Linked DNA regions of Homo sapiens: regions 2, 3 and 4 are each linked to region 1. The links are contacts of gene promoters, found by promoter capture Hi-C in blood cells and fetal thymus (Javierre and others, 2016). All regions are on one chromosome and are shown on one strand. The core of a region is centred on a gene start or on the middle of the fragment in contact, and the rest is flanking DNA. Distances in the headings are between cores, read along the strand shown. Region 1 holds the start of TTC12 (tetratricopeptide repeat domain 12). Region 2 overlaps PTS (6-pyruvoyltetrahydropterin synthase). Region 3 holds the start of PLET1 (placenta expressed transcript 1). Region 4 overlaps LINC02762 (long intergenic non-protein coding RNA 2762).

Region 1 (3,337 bases), core at 74-2,573:
AGAGAAATACACTAACACCTGACTTTGATCATGACAGGCTGGTCTAGTCAGAAGCTTAAATGTGGATGTGTGACAGGTAACAAACTTGGGGCAATTTGCATCTAAATGTCCATACTTGTTTAAAATCTGCCTTTGGCTTGTTTCTGAAGAGTGAAGAAAGGGTACAAATTGACTGAAGGGATTAGAACATAATGTTACCATGCTCACCAGCGTCTCTTCTGCTCTAGGTACCTCAGATATTATTTTACAGTTGTTTTTGTGCGAGAAGGCCCCGTGGTGTACCCAGCAGTACTCAGTGGTTCATCCACAGATCATAAAAATCATCGGGAAGATTGTTAAATATACAGCTTCCTCAGCCGTAGCCCGAGATTTCAAGTCAGTAAACCCGGGACATTGCCCAGACACGAATATAGATTTTAAACACTTTCCAGGTGATTCTCATTTATGGCCAGGTTTCATAGTAGTGTAACACGCTTCTAACACGTAATCTGCCACGAACAAACTACGAGTGATTTAATCGAGTCTCAGTGTCCTCATCTCCACCAGTTACAAGCTGTGTGATTCTGGCTAAATTCACAACCTCTCCGAGCCTCAGAGTCCTCACCCATACTATGGGAACAGTAAGAGAGAAACTACGAGGACTATTCTGGGGACTGATGTAAAGCACCAGGCACGCGACGAGTCCTCACCGTGAAGCACCCTTACCTATATAAAACAGGGGGTGGGGTTGCGGCTTAACTGAATAATCGCTAGGGTTTCTTCCAGGTCAAATCTTTTCAACTCCCACGGAACAGAGGCCTAGTCCAGTGAATTAATCTGCCCAACGGTATGAAGGTTAGAAGGCAGGCGCGCGGGTGCATGGACAGGAGACAACCTCTGTCTCCCAGGGCATGGATCTCAGGGTCCTCACTGCCTGGCCAGTGCCCCCCTACGCTAGGGTGAGAGGGCCAGAGCCAGGTGATGGCGAAGCGGCGCCGCGCTCAGTGCTTCACTCGGTAGGGCTGCGGCAGCGGGGACCTGTGCCCGAGCCCCGCGCGGAGCCTGCCCCAGACGCGCGCTGCCCGCCGGGCGCAAAGAGGCCAGGCCGCACGCACTGTTGCCCAGCAACCGCTCCCAGGCGTCCGCAAGTCCCGGGCCCTCCATGCAGGTCCCAGACCGCAGCCGTCCCAGACCGCAGCCAAGACCTTCCCATGCTCTGGGGCCCAAAGCAGCGTCCTCTGCTCGGCTCTGAAGGCCAGTGCAGGACCAGCTCCCAGGGGGGATTCCGGGGTACCCCGCGGCACCGACCTGATTCGCCCAGCTTTGGACAGGAAATGGCGCAGTGACCTGCCTGGGCTGGGGCGGGGCCAGGAGCCAGGGGCCCGGGGCGGGACCAAGGGCGGGGCCAGGAGCCAGGGCCCGGGGCGGGACCAAGGACGGGGTCAAAAGCCAGGAGGCGGGACAGGGGGCGGGCATGGACACGCGATCAGATTCGCTACCGCAGAGCTCTAGCTCCGGAGCGCGCCAAGTTGAAGGCCAAAGTCGAGGTTGGGATGCCCGATGCCTGGCGCGGGGAGACGGAGGAAGCAAAGTGCTGGTAACTAAAGCAGCGCCTGCTGCTCGCCTTTTTTCTACTGAAGAAGGGTTGTCTCACTCCCGTTAGCTTAATATCCTTGCCCAAAATGTAAAGTCTCCAGTGTACTTGTGAATCCGGTTTTGTTCATTGATAAATGTGTGAGTTAGAAGACTCACACATTTATCCTTAGGAAAGTTATTTGAGTAACCTTTTTAATCCTCAGTTTTCTCACCTGTGAAATGGAGAAATGGCACTTTCTCATAAGGTTTATGGTTAAAGTGCTGTAACCGCCCAATAGGTTCACCTTGCTCACTGCCTAAACAGAGTCGATTTATCAAGACAGGGGAATTGCAATAGAGAAAGAGTAATTCACACAAAGCTGGCTGTGAGGGAGACCGGAGTTTTATTATTACTCAAATCAGTCTCCCTAGCTTTCAGGGATCAGAGTTTTTAAGGATAATTTGGTGGGTAGGGGTCAGTGAGTCGGGAGTGCTGATTGGTAGGCTAGGAGATGAACTCACAGGGAGTCAAAGCTGTCCTCTTGTGCTGAGTCAGTTGCCAGGTGGGGGTCATAAGACCAGATGAGCCAGTTTATTCATCTGGGTGGTGCCAGCTGATCCATCGAGTGCAGTGTCTGTGAAATATCTTAAGCACTGATCTTAGGTTTTACAATAGTTGATGTTATCCCCAGGAGCAATTTGAGGTTTAGAATCTTGCAGCCTCTAGCTGCATGACTCCTAAACCATAATTTCTAATTTTGTGGCTAATTTGTTAGTCCTGAAAAGGCAGTCTAGTTCCTGGGCAAGAAGGGGGTTTGTTTGGGAAAGGGCTGGTATTGTCTTTGTTTCAAAGCTACACTATAAACTAAGTTCCCCCCAAAGTTAGTTTGGCCTATGCCTAGGAATGAACAAAGACAGCTTGGAGATGAGAAGCAAGATGGAGTCGGTTAGGTCAGATCCCTTTCACCATCTCAGTTATAATTTTGCAATGGTGGTTTCAGTGCCTGGTACCTAGTCAGTAGGAACAGGTGGCACGTGACATCCGGGGAATCATAGGGTTTAGAACAGAATGAGCTAATAGGCACATTCATTCATGCCCCAAATACATGCACACAGCCCTAAAGAAATTTCAGTCTGTTTTTCTAAACAAAATCTCAGAGTATTATGTGCAGGGTTACCAATGGAAAAAAAGCAGGTTTAGGGGAAACTTGAGCTTAAGTTCACGGTCAGAAACACCCGGAACTTCTTGGCAAATGAGTGCTTTATGGAAACCTGTTTGGCAGGGAACAAGGAGCCCCTAGAGATGGAATTCGCCAGAGGGGAGAGGGATCCAGGCATGGCCAGCTAGCTCTAGTGTTGATTCCAAGTACAGCCTGTTGACTCTCTTGTGGCCTAGGCCCCATAGGATGCATGCCTGTGTCCTGTAGAGAACAGAAGAGCTGTTTGGCTGAAGTCTCTATGATGCATTGGTACACATACCATCCTGCTTGGGTACCCCTCTAATGCAGTATAACACAAAGGGGCCACGGATGTTCTGCTCCTCTTGGCAGCTGAATGGGTACAGCATCAGCAGAGTGAGTCTTTTGGCTCATCAACTGCAGCAGGAGACCTGGGGATCCCAGCAGGACATGGTCACAGTGGCTGTCCCAAGGGAATGAGGTGCCTCAGGAGAAGTAGCAGACAGTGTAGGTGCCTGGCAGGAGCAAGGACGTTGATGAGCACAGGCTAGGCACACCATAGGGATCCTCAGAAAGATATAGGGTACTTCACAGTGACCTTCCAG
Region 2 (3,337 bases), core at 162-2,661, 1.1 Mb after region 1:
CTGCTCAGTCTCTGCCTGTAGAAGTAGAAAATGTCTTTCAGGTGTCCAGCTACACAGCAAGCTGGTCCAATACTGAGCAGTACCTTTCTGAACAAGCAATACTACTGGGCCTTAAATTCTTGTCCCCTTACTCACATGAATGTATACAAAGTCTAAAGTAATGCTTTGTAAATTAAAAAGTGCTTGTGAGAAGCATTTGAAAAATCTTGGCCAGGCGTGGTGGCTCAAGCCTGTAATCCCAGCACTTCGGGAGGCCGAGGCGGGCAGATCACCTGAGGTCTGGAGTTTGAGAGCAGCCTGGCCAACATGGTGAAACCCCATCTCTACTAAAAATACAAAAATTAGCCAGGCATAGTGGCGGGCGCCTGTAATCTCAGCTACTCGGGAGGCTGAGGCTGGAGAATCGCTCGAACCTGGGAGGTGGAGGTTGTAGTGACGGGAGATCACACCATTCCAGCCTGGGCAAAAAGAGTGGAACTCCATCTCAAAAAAAAAAACAACAACAACAAAAAAAAACTTTATCAGTGCTTTACACATTAATAACTTTTATGAATTTATGTATTTTAGTTCTGTACAAATACCATTAGATATTACATGTAAGTGAGTACACTGAGACTGAGATACCATAGATTAAGGAAGAGGCTGTAGCTAAACCAGTAATCCTAATCTCCTGACACCTTGTCTGTTTTTTTTTATGCCACCACACCACATACTGTTTTATACTCTACGACTTATGTACCTGTTTTTTAAGGCAGGCTGTACCTCAAAGAATCAAGTCTCTTATCCTTGAACAAATTACCTACTTTCTTCGAACACTGCTGGCAAAGCTTTAGACCAAACCTATTTTTCTGCCATACATTACATTCCTAGGCAACATTCCCCTTTTGTCAGTCATTATTTACTCAAAGAATAAAATCTAATTTTAACATTAGCCTTGGCCATACCTAATCAGAAAGAAACTTGTTGTGTACTCTAGGACAAAGAAAAATGCTTTAAACCATTCATTGTTTTGGACTGTTTGTAAGAGTTGACATTGCAAGGTAAAACTTAACACACACCCAACCAAGACAACAGATCCTTTCATTCTGAACTCCCATTTAATTTCTCATTCAAGGCTCAAAGCATTCACACTGTGTCCGTAAGTTTTCCCATTCTTTATGTCTACATTTGCTGAATACTCTTTCATCCTTATTGAAGGGCTGAAATGTCATCAGTTTTTCTCTCACCTTTATAATTGTGCCCATGGCCATTTGGATTGTTGCATTTCCCAAACAGTTTCAAGTTTTCTTCATCACTTAGAAATTTACTGACCAAAAAAAAAAAAAAAAGTCAGCATGACACAAGTATCACATTCAAACCCCCTTCTCTGTTCCTTATATTTATTATTTGTACTGATCTTTGAAAAGTTTCCCAATTTATTACTTTAGCTCACCAAAGGGAGAGTCAGAAATCATGTTGATTTTATTACTTACGTATACGTCACAAACCATGGCATATTCCCTAATTAGAAGATTGTACCATACAAATTAGCACAAACAAACCTTAACTTCAACCCCCTTGTTCCACAGCAACTGATCTGCTCATGGGCCTTCCACTTTTCAATTCAACATTACTGAGTGCCTACAATGTAACAGGCAAGTGCTGAATGAAATAACAGCATATAATGATAAACATAGATGGTGATCCGCAAAGTGGCTTACTATCTCATTTCTCTCAGAAGCTAAACTACTCATCCAGAAAAAATAATTTAAAAAAATTACATGACCTGGTAAGTCTCCTATTTAGCAATCTTGCTTTATACTATGTCTCAACTACTGCCTCATGAGAACTTTACCAATCTGTTGAGGAATATTCCAAGCAGGTGAATTTTTAAAATTACAATCTTTGGCTGTCGTCTCAGACAGAAAACAAATTGCTTAATGTTTATACTTATACCCATCCATTCAATTTCGCATCGTCTATGAGACCTTACCACCCTCAGGTGTTTAAGCTTATTATACAACCCCTTTTTTTTGAGATCCTCTTTATTATTCCCCCCAATGTAGTTTGGATGTTTGTCCCCTCCAATTGTCATGTTGAAATGTGATCCCCAGTGTTGGAGATGGGGCCTAGTGGGAGATGTTTGGCTCATGGAAGTGGATCCCTTATGAATGGCTTGGTGCCCTCCCTGAAGCAATGAGTGAGTTCTCGCTCTATTAGTCAATGGGCGAGCTGGTTGTTAAAAAAAGCCTGGCACCTCCTCTCCTCTCTCTTGCTCCCTCACTTGCCCTGTGAGTTGCCTGCTTGCTCGCCCTTCGCCTTCCACCATGAGTGGAAGGTCCCTGAGGCCTCAACAGAAGCAGATGCTGGTGCCATGCTTCTTGTACAGCCTGCAGAACCAAATAAACCTCTTTTCTTTATAAAATACCAGTCTCAGTATTCCTTTGTGGCAATGCAAAATGGAATAACACACCCCCACTTTCTCCTGCTCAGCCACTTCTTGTATTTAGAGTGCTAAAGTCTTTTGCACAAAATTTTCTCAGTGTACCCTCCACAAAATAGGCCAGATTGGAAACCCCATACAAGATCCCTGATGCATCCGTTACCTAGCACAAGCCCTGACAAGCACGAAACAAAACCTGGTTTAGCGAATGGAGGGATGAATCCTGTTAGATAGCGATGGTCATCCTCATTTCACAGACGACGATACGGAGGGCCAGAGGGTGGAGCTGGTTAGTGCGTGGTAAAATTCCTCAAAATCAACTCGTCAGTGCATGCAAGCAGTATGTATGATCGGGATTCAAATCCCAACTATGCTGCTTCGGAAACTGAACGTCTGGGCTCATTTTTTTTTTTTTTTCTCCTAGCCACTAGACCACCAGGGACTGGGTTCATCCAGTCTTTGGTAAAAAAGGGGCTAAAATTTGCCTTGTAATTACATTAGATATGGTGGCCAATGCTCCTGGCATACAAGATTAGCTAACATTTACTGAGTGTCTACGCCGCGCCAGGTACTGTGTAACATAGGCGAGTTTAACACTGCTGAGTTTCACAGCAACCCTGTGGTCTACACCAAGGGACTCCTAGGGGCAGAGACGTTTCTTCGAGTCGCAGAACCGGGTGTGGGCCCCGCACCCAGACGTGGGCCATCGCCCTCCGCAGTCGGCTCCGTTAACCATCAAGCTCCCCCACCCCTCCAGGGCTGGGGACACTCCAGCCCCCATCAGGATGCTGGAGGCCGTCCGAAGCCCCACGAAGCCGACCAGCGCGCGTCGCCCCAGCAGCCCCCGCGCCCCTCCCGGGCCCGACGTCAGCACGCCCGCCGGCCCCGCCCCGGTGACGTTCCGGGGCCCGGCGC
Region 3 (3,337 bases), core at 576-3,075, 1.1 Mb after region 1:
TTTACTTATTTTTGCCTCAGGCATCATGTCTAATAACTGTTGCTTAAACCAAGGTTATGAAGATTTATACCTATGTTTTTTCCTAAGAGTTTTATAGTTTTACATGTAGGCCCTTGGTTCACCTTGAGTTAATTTTGTATATGGTACGAGTAGGGCTCCAACTTTATTCTTTTGCATGTGCATATTCAGTTGACCCAGCACCATTTATTTCCCCATTGAGTTGTCTTGTTACCCTTGTCAAAACCCAGTTAATAATAAATGTGTGGGTATGTTTCTGAAATCTCAATTCTATTTCATTGATGTATATGTCTATCCTTATGTCAGTACCACACTGTCTTGATTACTGTAGCTACACAGTAAATTTTAAAATTGGGAAGTGTGAGTCCTCAAACTTTGTGAGTTTTGTTTGTTTGTTTTCAAGATCATTTTGACTATCCTGAGTGTATTGTTATAGTTTTCCGTATACAAGTCTTGCACTTGTTTTGTTAAATGTATTCAATTGACCCATCTTCAAGTTCACCAATACTTTCTTCTACCAGTTCAAATATGCTGTTGAGTTCTTCTGGTGACTTTTTAAAATCGTAGTTATTGTACTTTTCCATTGCAGAATTTCTATTTGGCTCTTTTTATCATTTTAATCTCTTTATTACTATTCTTTACTTGGTGAGACAATCACCAAAATCAATCTCATACTTTCCTTTAATTCTTTAGACATGATTTTTTCTAGTTCTTTGAACGTATTTATAAAGCTGAGTTAACGTCTATGTCAAGTTCAGCGTGTGGGCTTCCTCAGGGACAGTTTCTGTTTACCTGGGATGTTTTTTTCTTCTGTATAAGCCATACTTTCTTGTTTATTTGTATATCTTATAATTTTTCTTGAAAACTGAACATTTAAAAAACATGAAGCCAAGCAAAGTGACTTATGCCCATAATCCCAGCACTTTGGGAGGCTGAGGCAGGAGGATTGCTTATGCCCAGGAGTTCAATAACAGTCTGGACAACATAGCAAGACTCTACAAAAACTATAAAAATTAACCAGGTGTGATGACACGTGCCTATAGCCCCAGCTACTTGGGAAGCTGCAGCAGGAGGATCACTTAAGCCCAAGAATTTGAGGCTGCAGTGAGCTATGATTGCACCACTTCACTCCAGCCTGGGCAATAGTGAGACTGTGTCTCAAAAAAATAAATAAATACATACATACACACACACACACACACACACACACACACACAAATGTGACAACTTTGGACACCAGACTCCCTTCTCCTCCCTGAGTTTGTTTTTGTTGCTGTTTGTTATTCTTTTTTATTGTTGTTGTTGCTGCTGTTTGTTTTATGACTTTCCTAAATTAATTATGTGAAGTCTGTATTCTTTATCATGTGTAACCACCAAAGTCTCTGTTCTGTTTGCTTATTGACCAGCTAATAAATAGATTTTTAAAAAATTTCTTTAACTAATAACTCTGGAACCAACAAGTCTCCCAGTCTTTGCTAAGCACTTCTGCATGTGTGTTTTGGGGAATGCCTTCAGTGATCAGATAGGCAGTTTACAGCTCTACCTTAGCCTTTACTTCTTACTTGTGCAGAGCCTCAAGGTCGGCCAGAGGTGAGTAATTAGGGCCTCCTCAGGTCTTTCCTGGGAATGTGTGTAGCCCTGCACATGCACATGGCTTTTTAGATTCCCAGGGATTCGTCCAAGCTTTTCAAACCCCCTATAGACATCTCATTCCTCAGGGGTTTATTTTACATTTTACACAACTCTGAATTTCACTTGCTGGTATTCACATCTTCTCAATGGCTTTCTTCAAACAGCAGATGCTGAAATGACAGGCGTAAAAGAAAACCATATTCAGGACATTCCCTTTCTTGAGCAAAACTGCAATTTGCAAAATCATCGGTGACAGGTAATGGTGACTGGTGATTCATTCCTGGTGATGTCTTGGGCCAAATTCCAGAATCCAATGTATATTCAGAAGGGGCAGGGAGAAGATCTGCATGTATGACTTCACCCAGAAGCCCTGGCATATAAACAAGAGGTGAGTTGTCAGTTTCACCCAATTCCAGGCCTAGCACTTTCCAAACAGACTGAGACCATGGCAGTCTTCCATGACATGCTGCTGCAGCCACTGGGGATGTTTCTGTGCCTCAGTCTGCAGCTTTCTTCTGCCACCTTTATAAGGTACAGTAGCACCTGCTTCACCTTTGATGAATACTACACCATAACCCTAGACATCAAGGCCAGTTCACATATCTACGAAAGCAATGCAGTCTATTCTGGTGAGTAGAAGCCATGCTCTCTGCTGTCCTTTGTTCCCTGAGGGAAATTAACCAGAATTTCAGAACACACCCCTCTATCGCTACTCTCAATTATACAAAACATGTGTCTTCTGAACCAAATGGGAAGCAAGGGAAGGAAGACAAAGAATGAGAATTAAGGGAGTGGGCTGGGGGGCTATTTCTGCAAATTCCTTGTGAACTCAAGCCACAGGAGCGAGAAAGCCCCAACCCCAGATTCACTGAGTCCCAGCAAGAGCACACTTGGGGTAGATTCTCTGACTTAAATAAAATGGGCAGTTTTATCATTTTAAGGGATAATCATTGCATTCCAGTGTATAATCTTTTCTCTTTTTGTTTTTGTTTTTCTGGAGACAGAGTCTCACTTTGTCACCCAGGCTGGAGTGTAATGGTACAATTTCAGCTCACTGCAACCTCCGCCTCCTGGGTTCAAGCAATTCTTGTACCTCAGCCTCCCAAGTAGCTGGGATTACAGGTGCACACCACCACGCCTGGCTAATTTTTTGTATTTTAGTAGAGATGGGGCTTCTCCATGTTGACCAGGCTGGTCTCGAACTCCTGGCTTCAAGTGATCCACCCACCTCAGTCACCCAAAGTGCTGGAATTACAGGTGTGAGCCACTGTACCCAGCCTCCAGTGTGTAATCTTTTCATATCTATTTGACAATATGATGCCTCTGGGGATAATTGTGTACTGCATTTAGTCCGTGGGTGAAAAAAATCTAATAAACAACACAGGGGAAGTATTACTAACCCACTTTATGTATGAAAAGCCTGAGACCAAGGGAAATTAAATGACCTGCCCAGAGTCTCCCTTCTAGTAAGTCATAGAACTGGCTCTTGAATCTTAGTCTGTTCATTCTTAATCCAATGCTTTTCTTAGAGGTGTCCAGTAGATATTTTTTATATAGCCCTTTTTGAATCAGCCAAACCTAAAAGTCAAGGAATATGCTTTCTAATTCATTTCATAATAATAACACTTCCTATGGTGTTTAACATGTAATAGTGACCTATTAGGGAGATATCATTATCATTCCCATT
Region 4 (3,337 bases), core at 441-2,940, 1.0 Mb after region 1:
TCTAATATTGAGTCTTCAAGCTATCCTGCACTACTTAGTAGTTTGCATGGAGCCCAACAAAAGTTGAGTGTTGCCTTTGGCCTTTAAAATATCTCAAAGAGCCCCTCTGAATCCACAGCAGCTCCAAGAACACCTCAGCACAGAGTTTGGGAACATGCATGGAACTCACTCCTGCTCCTCTCCTCATCCCACACTCCCCAGGGTTCACAGTGCTCCTCCTGCAAGCATCTTCTTTCTTGCCAAATGCTTTCCCACCTCAGCACTTTGTGCCCTTGCTCTTCTCTCTGCCTGGAATGCTCTTCCTCAGGTCTCCGCAGGCCCAGCTCCTTCTTGGCCTCCAGGTCTTGGTTCAAAGACCACTGTGCTCCCTAAAGCCTCTTCAGGCCTCCCACCAAATCACTTCTATCCTATGGGCCTGTTTCCTTTTCTGTATAGCTTTTATCACTATCTGAAGTTATCCTGCTTAGTTTACTTACTTATTTTCAAGCTTCCCCACCAGAATGTGAACTTGATGAGAACAGAGACTTTTGTTCATTACTGTTTCCGCAGAACCCGCAACAATGGTTAGCAATAAGTAGACAATAAACAATTGTTCAATGAATGACTGCAGCCTCTACACTCAGCTCAGGGAGATAAAAGGTAAGAAGAATGTGCTTTACACGTGCTATCCCCTTGGATCTTCACAACACTCTTTGGAAATAGATACAAATAGACATGATTAACCCCATTTAATAGATGAGAAACTCACATTGAAAGAAGTTAAGTGTTCAAAGCTGCACAGCTGAAGTGGCAGAGCTAAGATTCAAGTTCATGTCTACTTGACTGCAAAGGCTGCTTTTCATAAAATCACATTAACATCATGTTGGATACCTTCGATACACACAATACATTTTTTTTTAAGACGGAGTTTCACCCTTGTCACCCAGGCTGAAGTGCAGTGGCACAACCTCGGCTCACTGCAACCTCCACCTCCTGGGTTCAAGCGATTCTCCTGCCTCAGCCTCCCAAGTGGCTGGGACTACAGGCATGAGCCACTACATTGGCTAATTTTTGTATTTTTAGTAGATACAGGGTTTCATCATGCTGGCCAGGCTAGTCTCAAACTCCTGACCTCAGGTAATCCACTGGCCTTGGCCTCCCAAAGTGCTGGGATTACAGGCATGAGCTACCGCACCCGGCCAACATTTATTTTTTTTAAAAAAAATGTTAACCACATTGCCTCCCATTATCCCATTATCCACCTAGAAAAGCTAATAATAACAATGGCAAAGTCAAGAAATGTAGCCAAGGGGCCAACAGAGCCCCAGAGTCCTTAGAGAAACTGGCCACATCGGCATTTCCCCACTCGAGGACTCAGCCCCTGCCTCCAGTAGAAAATAGCAGAGGTGCCCACCTGGGAAGGCCTTGCCTTTATTATTCCTCTGGCCATAGCTGGCCATACCAAGGAGACCTCTTGCAGACATATCTTCTGGCCTGGCCCATGTTACTCTGTAAACCTAATGACATGTGTAACTCTCGTTGCTGATTACAACTGCCGAGCTCCTGTTGATCATCATGACAGGTAAGAGGCAAACACACATGCAGCTGCAATCAAGGACATGATGAGCACCTACCCTGAGCTCTGGATGGCACTGGGTGCTCAGGTTGCCCACATTTTAGACAGTCGCTGATTGGAGCAAGAATTATTAGGCCACACTCATCTGCATCCCCCAGGAAATGCTGGGTTGCCTTGACCCCCTGGGAGGAGTTATGAAGGGTCCCCACAGGCTAGAGCTTGGGTGGCTGGACACTGAGTTGGAGACCCTCGTACAAAGAAAGGGAGATTAAAATTTGTTCTGTAGAGTCAAGGGACTTGTGCTTGTCAACTTCCCCTCTTCATATGGCTTTGTTTCCCCATGTTGCTTTTAAACAGGTGGTTCAGGCAGGAGAAGAAATCAGCTCTTCCCTCCTCACCCCTATACTCCCCTTGGCCTGGCCCAGCTATAACTTCTGCTTATTCAAGACTCAGTAGTGTTGGTGCTGCCTCCAGGAAGCCTGTCCTGGCCCCTGAGACCTCTCCTCTGTGCTCAGAATAACCCCCATACATCACTGGATCCTGGTACTCGCCCTGCTGCATTATAATTATCTAAGTGTGGGTCTGTCTCCCATCCGGGCTGTGAGCTGAACTGAGGTAGGAACTGTGACCCATTTACTGTCATGTCTCCAGCTAACACCATGCCTGGCACAGAGTAAGTGGAATAAATATCTGGGCTAATGGAGTTGCTGGATTACCAGACTACGTGTTCTGACAGGTAGCTGGGAAGATAGGATCATCATAGTTCTAGTCTCTGTGCTGCCGACATTCACAAGCTCTTGGAAGACCTTAGGAATCATCTAGCCCTGTGCACAGGTTCCCACATCCTGAGGTCCCTGCACCAGGAAGGGTGGTCTGCCAGAACTACAAAGGCCGAGGGAACAACTTCTCAGGAAAGCCTTGGCCACAGGCTACTCTCATTTCTGAAGGCTCTGAGCCTATCTCACTGACCATTTAGAACAAATTGTTCATGACTCAACTTCATTATCTTCTACCCCGTATAGGAGCCCCAGCCTCCTCGGCTCTGCATTAGGTCATTGTTATCGCTCCCTTGTGGGCTTGCCATGTCACCTCCACAAGCAGCAGCAAAAATCACTTGCCAGAAAAAATGTCAGAAAAGCAATTAACATGAGCCTGGGTAGCAAGAAAGAAGCAACACATAAGAACAAAGGAGATGGCTCCTCCCTGCAAAGTCTGTGATTGCCTACCAGGGAAGCCAGCTCTGGGAGACCTGGGGATTGGGCTTGAGCCATCAGCCTCTGCCCCTGGTGCTTTATTTCAGAAGCACCAGCATCCCTTTAATCATGCGCAGGAAGCTTGACTGCTGTGGGAGCCCAAAGGGACCACCTGAAGCCTGTGATGAGACGGGCTGCAGCGCAGGAGAAAGACAGAGTCTCTCCCACTGCCTACTGAGGAATGCAGCTGCTCTGCAGCTGAACTTGGAGAGGCAAGAAAGAGAACAGACATTTAGGAAATGAGAGGTGACCCAGTGTCTGAACACTGAAGGTCATGGGGAGATACAAGAGACAGAGAACAGGCTGAGCATGGTGGCTCACGCCTGTAATCCCAGCACTTTGGGAGGTGGGCAGATCACGAGGTCAAGAGATTGAGACCATCCTGGCCAACACAGTGAAACCCCGTCTCTACTAAATATACAAAAATTAGCTAGGCGTGGTGGCACATGCCTTTAATCCCAGCTACTTGGGAGGCTGAGCCAGGAGAATCCCTTGAACCCGGGAAGCAGAGCTTGCAGTGAACTGAGAT

The links. Contacts are between HindIII fragments. The CHiCAGO score rates a contact against its expected background, and 5 or more counts as called.
Region 2: a contact is called between a fragment that was not itself captured here and the fragment with the promoter of TTC12 in region 1, in 11 of 17 cell types (total B cells, activated CD4 T cells, total CD8 T cells and 8 more). The highest score is 22.4, in total B cells.
Region 3: the fragment with the promoter of PLET1 here is called in contact with the fragment with the promoter of TTC12 in region 1 in 4 of 17 cell types (naive B cells, naive CD8 T cells, total B cells and 1 more); the score reaches 6.3 in naive B cells.
Region 4: a fragment that was not itself captured here is called in contact with the fragment with the promoter of TTC12 in region 1 in 11 of 17 cell types (naive B cells, monocytes, total B cells and 8 more); the score reaches 13.2 in naive B cells.

What each region holds. Positions count from the first base shown.
Region 1 is chr11:113,312,569-113,315,905 of GRCh38, reverse strand. TTC12 (tetratricopeptide repeat domain 12) reads right to left here and starts at 1,323. Exons shown (of 22, transcript NM_017868.4): 1 at 1,288-1,323. TTC12-DT (TTC12 divergent transcript) reads left to right here and starts at 1,450. Exons shown (of 5, transcript NR_199709.1): 1 at 1,450-1,576. RefSeq lists silencers at 953-1,052, 945-1,239, 1,263-1,512. The HindIII fragment of the contact is 13,389 bases long and covers 57-3,337 here.
Region 2 is chr11:112,226,563-112,229,899 of GRCh38, reverse strand. PTS (6-pyruvoyltetrahydropterin synthase) reads right to left here. Exons shown (of 6, transcript NM_000317.3): 2 at 1,227-1,306. Among named protein-coding and RNA genes, the nearest start is that of PTS, 1.8 kb to the right of the region's middle. RefSeq lists silencers at 2,540-2,834, 3,192-3,337. The HindIII fragment of the contact is 1,163 bases long and covers 830-1,992 here.
Region 3 is chr11:112,259,348-112,262,684 of GRCh38, reverse strand. PLET1 (placenta expressed transcript 1) reads left to right here and starts at 1,825. Exons shown (of 4, transcript NM_001145024.1): 1 at 1,825-2,279. The coding sequence starts at 2,096. It overlaps LOC100132686 (a long non-coding RNA gene), which reads right to left and starts at 2,420. Exons shown (of 1, transcript NR_133566.1): 1 at 1,289-2,420. The HindIII fragment of the contact is 13,385 bases long and covers 1,704-3,337 here.
Region 4 is chr11:112,285,461-112,288,797 of GRCh38, reverse strand. All of the region lies in intron 1 of LINC02762 (long intergenic non-protein coding RNA 2762), which reads right to left. Among named protein-coding and RNA genes, the nearest start is that of LINC02762, 16 kb to the right of the region's middle. The HindIII fragment of the contact is 2,402 bases long and covers 490-2,891 here.